2 separate regions of the Homo sapiens genome follow, and region 1 is linked to region 2. Evidence: promoter capture Hi-C in 16 types of primary human blood cells and fetal thymus (Javierre and others, 2016). All regions are on one chromosome and are shown on one strand. The core of a region is centred on a gene start or on the middle of the fragment in contact, and the rest is flanking DNA. Distances in the headings are between cores, read along the strand shown. Region 1 holds the start of RPS29 (ribosomal protein S29). Region 2 holds the start of TRAPPC6B (trafficking protein particle complex subunit 6B).

The links. Contacts are between HindIII fragments. The CHiCAGO score rates a contact against its expected background, and 5 or more counts as called.
Region 1: the fragment with the promoter of RPS29 here is called in contact with the fragment with the promoter of TRAPPC6B in region 2 in 1 of 17 cell types (total B cells); the score reaches 6.7 in total B cells.

What each region holds. Positions count from the first base shown.
Region 1 is chr14:49,585,118-49,588,591 of GRCh38, forward strand. RPS29 (ribosomal protein S29) reads right to left here and starts at 1,263. Exons shown (of 3, transcript NM_001032.5): 1 at 1,168-1,263; 2 at 833-932. The coding sequence starts at 1,229. It also overlaps RN7SL1. RefSeq lists enhancers at 294-343, 942-1,441, 1,314-1,823. The HindIII fragment of the contact is 6,928 bases long and covers 1-2,299 here.
Region 2 is chr14:39,168,712-39,172,176 of GRCh38, forward strand. It overlaps TRAPPC6B (trafficking protein particle complex subunit 6B), which reads right to left and starts at 1,622. Exons shown (of 6, transcript NM_001079537.2): 1 at 1,304-1,622. The coding sequence starts at 1,384. RefSeq lists enhancers at 1,080-1,669, 1,429-1,478, 2,260-2,849. The HindIII fragment of the contact is 6,900 bases long and covers 1,403-3,465 here.

The sequences.
Region 1 (3,474 bases), core at 13-2,512, about 10 Mb after region 2:
TCAGCACTTTGGGAGGCCGAAGCAGGCGGATCACGAGGTCAGCAGTTCGAGACCAGCCTGACCAACATGGTAAAACCCCGTCTCTACTAAAAATAAAAAAATTAGCCGGACATGGTGGCAGGCGCCTGTAATCCCAGCTATTCAGGAGGCTGAGGCAGGAGAATCGCTTGAACCGGGGAGGCGGAGGTTGCACTGAGCGGAGATCACGCCATCGCACTCCAGGTTGGGTGAGTGCGACTCCGACTCAAAAAAAAAAAAAAAAAAACTTGGGGTCAGCGGTTAATACATATATTTGGTTAGAAAATATCTAGGTACAGCCGCGCGTGGTGGCAAGAGCCTTTAGTCCCAGCTACTCGGGACGCCAAGGCAAGAGGATCGCCTGAGACCAGGAGGAGTTCGAGGCTGCAGTGAGCCGTAACAACGCCACTGCACTTCAACCTGGGCGACAGAGGGAGACCCTATCTCTAAAAAAAAAAAAAAGAGAATAGGTACTTACAAGATTGATAAATGAAACAAATGTAAAACAATTTTAGTGGCTTCTCTAAAGTGAATTTCACCAAACACAATACACGGCACCTAAAACTGGCTAAGCTATCTAGGTAAAAAAGGGAGTAGGAAAGACTAAGTCCTTCACCTTCTCCATTCTATTAATTTGATTGCCCAAACCATCAACACTGTCACCAGCTACCAACTAAAAAAAGAGGAAAAGCTCTTGGTCGAATGCTCAGAATTACCACTCCAGGGAAGATCTGTCCGTTTGTCTTTCGCGGAAAAAATAACCCCCACAACCTTCTCTGCCCAAACAACATGGAGTACGCCTGCAGACGCCTACCTTAATGAAACCGATATCCTTCGCGTACTGACGGAAACACTGGCGGCACATATTGAGGCCATATTTCCGGATCAGACCGTGCCGGTTTGAACAGACACGACTGTAAGAAAAGAGACAGCGGTTTTGCAGGTCATAGAAATTACAAGACTCCGCACTCAGACGGCTACTACCCGCATCCCGGGACTCCCAAGCCACAGTACAGGCCTGTAATGGCGGCACCAGCGACTCCCAGTCGGCGTGCTCCCTCGTGCCGCCCGTGGCCTCCTCTACTTGAGATTTTAAGCAGCCTAGCGCTCCACGGCAACGCTTCCCCAAAATCACAAACTATTTCTCACCAAGAGCGAGAACCCTGGCCGAATTTTCGCGGGTGGCTCCAGTACAGCTGCTGGTGACCCATCTTGCTCTCAGCAGTGCAACGAGGTAAAAGGAAGAAGCTGGCCCACGCATGCGCTCTTCAAATTTTTGAGACAGTTTACCCAGAATGCAGTGCTCAAAGGAAACGCGTGCGCAGTGTGGTCAGGTTGTTTCGCTGGGTGAGTAAAATGAAATCTTAGAGGCGTTGTGGGCTGGCCCAGTTGATGACGTCACCATACCACAGCTTCTAGTGCTATTCTGCGCCGGTATCCGACCGCCGGGCGCGGTGGCGCGTGCCTGTAGTCCCAGCTACTCGGGAGGCTGAGGCTGGAGGATCGCTTGAGTCCAGGAGTTCTGGGCTGTAGTGCGCTATGCCGATCGGGTGTCCGCACTAAGTTCGGCATCAATATGGTGACCTCCCGGGAGCGGGGGACCACCAGGTTGCCTAAGGAGGGGTGAACCGGCCCAGGTCGGAAACGGAGCAGGTCAAAACTCCCGTGCTGATCAGTAGTGGGATCGCGCCTGTGAATAGCCACTGCACTCCAGCCTGGGCAACATAGCGAGACCCCGTCTCTTTTGAACAATAAATACGTTAATTTTGGACTCTCAAGAGATGAATATTCTCATAGTCTTTTTTATTGATTAAACCTTTTACTTTCTTTTAATTAAAACGTTACACTTGGGAAAGGAGTTTTTCCTCGACTCACCAGTGACACCTACTGGAATAAATTTACAAAACAACTTAAAATCAGCTGTAATGATCACGAGTCAACGGTAGGGTTTGCTTTTATTTTGTTAAAGAGAGTACGTTTTCAAATTTATTTTTTTGACACACTCCTCCAAGAAATACACCTACACCATTCCAAAAAAAAATGAGATTCTTTGGCATTTAGTGTATTTGATTCTTAAATGTAATTGGCTGAATGTAAAGTAATAAACAAGTAATGTGCAGTGTATGTTGCTTTGACCAGATAATTTGGTGACAAAACAAGTAATGAAAAGCAAATGCAAAAATGCAAAAAACCAATGTCAATAAACGAATTTCTGCTGAAAGATACCTACATTCCATATGGTCATTTATAATGCCTCCAGATAAAACTGCTCTGAAATCAAAGCTTTAACTAGATTTATAAAATGTAGCACAGGGTGCAACAATTCCAGAAACTTTTACATATAAACTTTTATAAATTGAAATACAACACTTCTTTAAGGTATGTTATGTCAGGGTTCTAGTGGGGTCCCCCTACCCAATCATTAAGTTAGGCATTGTATTATATGATTAAGGAAGGAGGGGAGTCAGAGATTTGTAAACTAGATATAACTTGCTCCTTGCCCTCAAAATTTTCTAATCTGTGGGAAACAGGATTATCTCCAAGACTTCAACATACAACGTTTGTGCACCAACAACATATGTACAGCTAAGGAAAATATTCTGTATTAAATCATGGGTGTGCTCATGAAGTACGAAAGGAGCCAAGAAGAGAAATTAATTCCAGTTCGAGGTACATTTGAGAGACCTTTGAGGTAGACCTTGAAGAATGGGATTTCTACAGGCAGCACTTGACAGAAGGGAATGCCTGGTGAAAGGAAGCGCTTGAGCCAAGGTAAGGTGAACAACTTTGTGTAACTAGAATAGAAGATGGACAAAAGGCCTAGTGATAGGAATGAAAAGGTATTTTATTTTAAAGCCTCATTGGGCAAGATCCAATGTCAAGCTTTTACAACTTTCCTATAATTTATATCAGTCACTAATGTGTGGTTTCCAAAAGCCATTTGCCTCTCAAAAGCTAATCTAACATTTGTCCACACTTTCTTAGGCCTCTTCTAGTTGGTCTCCACAATATTTAAAACATTACAGTGGTTCTGAGATCAATTCCATTAATATTTTTAGTACTCTGATATATAAGCCTTTGGGCCTAAAGAAGTGAATTCATTTAGGAGAGAAAAAAAGACAAATGAGAAGCAATTAGTTGCACTTCAACAATCTTAATCTGAATACTTAAGTAATTCTTAATACTTATTCTAGTCTATACATTATTCTCTTTGATAGAGATATTGCAAAAGTGCAGCTAAGACGTCGTACTTCCTTTCAGTTTTAAGATAATGTGACACCATCTATCCCAAACCATGAAATTATCCATTTCTTTTTCAACAAACTGAGAACACAGCTTTAAAAGTTCATTTTAACTCGGTGTTTATCAAGAGCTTTTATGTTTTGTTTTGTTTTTTTTCCTTTTTTTTTGAGACGGAGTCTCACTCTGTCGCCCAGGCTGGAGTGCAATGGCACC
Region 2 (3,465 bases), core at 372-2,871:
TCCTTAAACAAGGCCTACAGAATTCCACTTTCTAACTTTCAAATCTGTTATCTCCTTTTCTCACTATCCCTGTCTTAATCCAGATCTTCATCTCCTCCTGCAGTGACTCCCGTAATAAAGGATTTTCCCCCTACAAGGATCTTCCCTCTCTAGCCCAAACACTGGATTACTTTTCTAAAATGCAAATGGTCCACATCATTCCCTTCCTTAAAAATATTCCCTCGAAAAGATCCGAATTCTTTAATTACACAAAGCTTTCTAACTTCACCTCTCAATTCTTCTCACTCTCTATTCAGTCTAGTCCAAAGAAATGCTTAAGTGTATTTAAATCCACCACTCTTTCATACCTCTACCACTTTATCTTTGCCTAGGATACATTTCCTATCCCCACTCTCCACTCATTTTTTATCAATAGCATTAAAGAAAGGGCTCCTGACTTGAGCATGACTTTGGAGTATTTCTAAAATCCGTTACAACTCCATGATTCTACCAGCCAATACTCAGTGTTAACTATTCATTAAATCACTATTCCCTAAATACTGTGAGGCAGGAGTATTATTTTATTTAATTTATCTAGCAGTGTCAGCAGTGACAGGCCCACAATGATTGAATAAGGACTCCCACATATTAGAAGTAACCGCTACATACTATCACATTTCGGATTAAATTAGATTAAAAAAAAATCTCTACAAGGATGGGGCCATTGTTTCATTCACTACTATATCCCTGGCACCTAGAAATCGCTCTGACATAAGGGCACTAAATAAATACTTTCTGAAATAATTAATTTAAATTATGTTCCCTAATTATCCTAACGCCTGCAAACTTTCCTTTGCAAACTCAACCTTCATTAGGCTTCAGGTCTCAAGTTGTGTGGAGTTGTACTGAGCATTAGGAATGAGGAAGGAGGGACAGGCTTCTCAGGTTGGCACAGGTCTGTCCAGTGCATGGCTCAAGTGCTGGAAGTGCCAGCAAAACTAAGTAGGCTCTGCAGTTAACCCTCTCGTAAATAATGGCAGGGACAACACTAAAAGTACCAAAATCTGTGGCGTGCAAGACAAACGTACGGGAATAGACAAAAGAGAATCAAATAGAAGAAGATACGAAAGAGAAAACGATGAAAGATGACGGTTCAAAGGAGACAACTGACAGGTTCTAGGGTTTAGGACACCTGGAGGTGGACCATTTTGTGTACACCTCGGGAGGCGTCGGGTGGCGATGGGACAGGGGTTGAAGGAAAGCACTGAGGGGAAACAAGGTGTGTCACCGCAAAAGGACCTCAAGGTTGTGTGGCAGCACTCACCACCTCCCCCTGCTCCGCGGACTTGTACACTCCAGACACCATCTCGTTATGGAGAAGCAAAAACAACGCCTCATCCGCCATTTCCTGCTAATTCTTCCAAGCTTCGAGTTTTGGCTCCCGTTTGAGCTGGTCTGGGGGTTCCAGCTCGCGCCTCAGCGACTTCGCCGGCGCCGCGGCTCCGTCAGGCCGCCATTCTATCCCTGTGGCTAAGAGACCGAGGTATTCACACGACTTCCCAAAGGCTGGTACTGAAATGAGTCTGGTACTGGAGAGAGCCCACACTTCGGGGCTACCAAATCCTAGGGCCGAACTAAAGTCTGACGGGAGCTCTAACCAAAGCCAACCAGCTGAGATGCGATCCGGCCGCTGGGCGGGGGCGAAAAAAACAACTTCCGGTCCCCTCTACCCCGGCATTCGGCCAGCTCTATGATCACTGAGTTCCTCTCTCCCAAGCCCGGAGAGGCCAGCGCCCAGATATGAGGAAGGTTCCCCTCTCACCACGATGTCGGGGGCAGAGCAAGATAAAATAAGACCTAAAGCTCCCGCCTGGCCCGGGCGCGGTGGCTCACGCCTGTAATCCCAGCACTTTGGGTGGCGGAGGCGGGTGGATCACATGAGGTCGGAAGTTCGAACCAGCCTGAGAAACCCCGTCTCTACTATAAGTACAAAATTAGCGGGGCCTGGTGGTGCATGCCTGTAATCCCAGCTACTCGGGAGTCTGAGGCAGGAGAATCGCTTGAACTCGGGAGGCGGAGGTTGCGGTGAGCTGAGATCGCGCCACTGCACTCCAGCCTGGGCAACAAGAGTGAAACTCCGTCTCAAAAAAAAAAAAAAAAAAAGAGCTCCCGCGGCCACCTCCTTGTTAATTAGCAATAGAAGTTAAAAAAATTCTTTTGGCTTCATCAAAAGCATCCACTTCCTGCCATATGTTCTTCAAATATGAAAAGTTGTAGAAAGAGTTTAAAATATACGTTTTCACAGTGCAAATTTTTTAAATATTGAAAAGTTATCCCAATTCCTATTGAATTAAGCCCGGGTATACAAAAAGAATTAGAGCCATTTTGACCACCAGGAATTTTCCTGTTAGTGGGGTGCAAGGGACAAGGGAAGTGGAGCAAACGAAAAACAAGATACACTTGAACCGGAAAATACAGACTAATCAGAGGATTAGGTGAAAAGTGCTATAGAATTCAGAAAAGCGATGTCACTGCAGGATGGAGTTGCTAATAATCTACAGCAGTGTGAGACAACTGTAGGAATTGTCCCACTGCATGTGCAAATAAATACACATGCTACATCATAGTATGTACATCTTAAATTTGGCAAATTCAACCGTAAGCATGTTGCTTAGCCTGTGATTAGTTCTTCCATTGGTAATTCACAAAACAAAATTTTTCCCCAATTGTCCCTGTTGTTTTCCCCCAAATTAACATACCGCAAGGTGGCTCATGCCTGTAAAATCCAGCACTTTGGGAGGCCGAGGCACGGGGGGTGGGGGGGATCACGAGGTCATGAGTTTTGAGAGCAGCCTGGCCAACATGGTGAAAACCCGTCTCCACTAAAAATACAAAAATTAGCCGGGCGTGGTGACAGGTGCCTGTAATCCCAGCTACTCGGGGGGCTGAGGCAGGAGAATCACTTGAACCTGGGAGGCAGAGGTTGCAGCGAGCAGAAATTGTGCCACTGCACTCCAGCCTGGGCGACAGAGCAAGACTTCGTCTCAAAAAACGAAACACACACACAAACTCTTCATGCCCTTTCACAGGAATTTAAGATCATGTTCCAAAATTTTAATTGTGGTAGGTTTTTTTTTTAAGCATGTCCCTTCTAATGTTTGAATCAGTTTATTCCATTCATCACGTAAATCCAGCATAAAAGCTCCACTTAAGCCTTTGAAAACACTAAATTGTGTAATTTTGAAGAGTATTTTGCCATGGTAATCTTAATTTTTCCAGCACTAAATTTTCAGTTATGCGAAATCAGGTCCTTTATGTCTAGATGACATTCTTGCCCTCATCACTACCATCAAGAAAAAGGAGTCCAAGTCCACCACACAAGTCAAAAAGTAAGTAAATGGCCAATTTATCAAAGTTGACTTCTCCAACCACAATAACATGAGGCTTTTAAAGTACGTTTCTGGATAGAAAGGAAACTTATTTAAT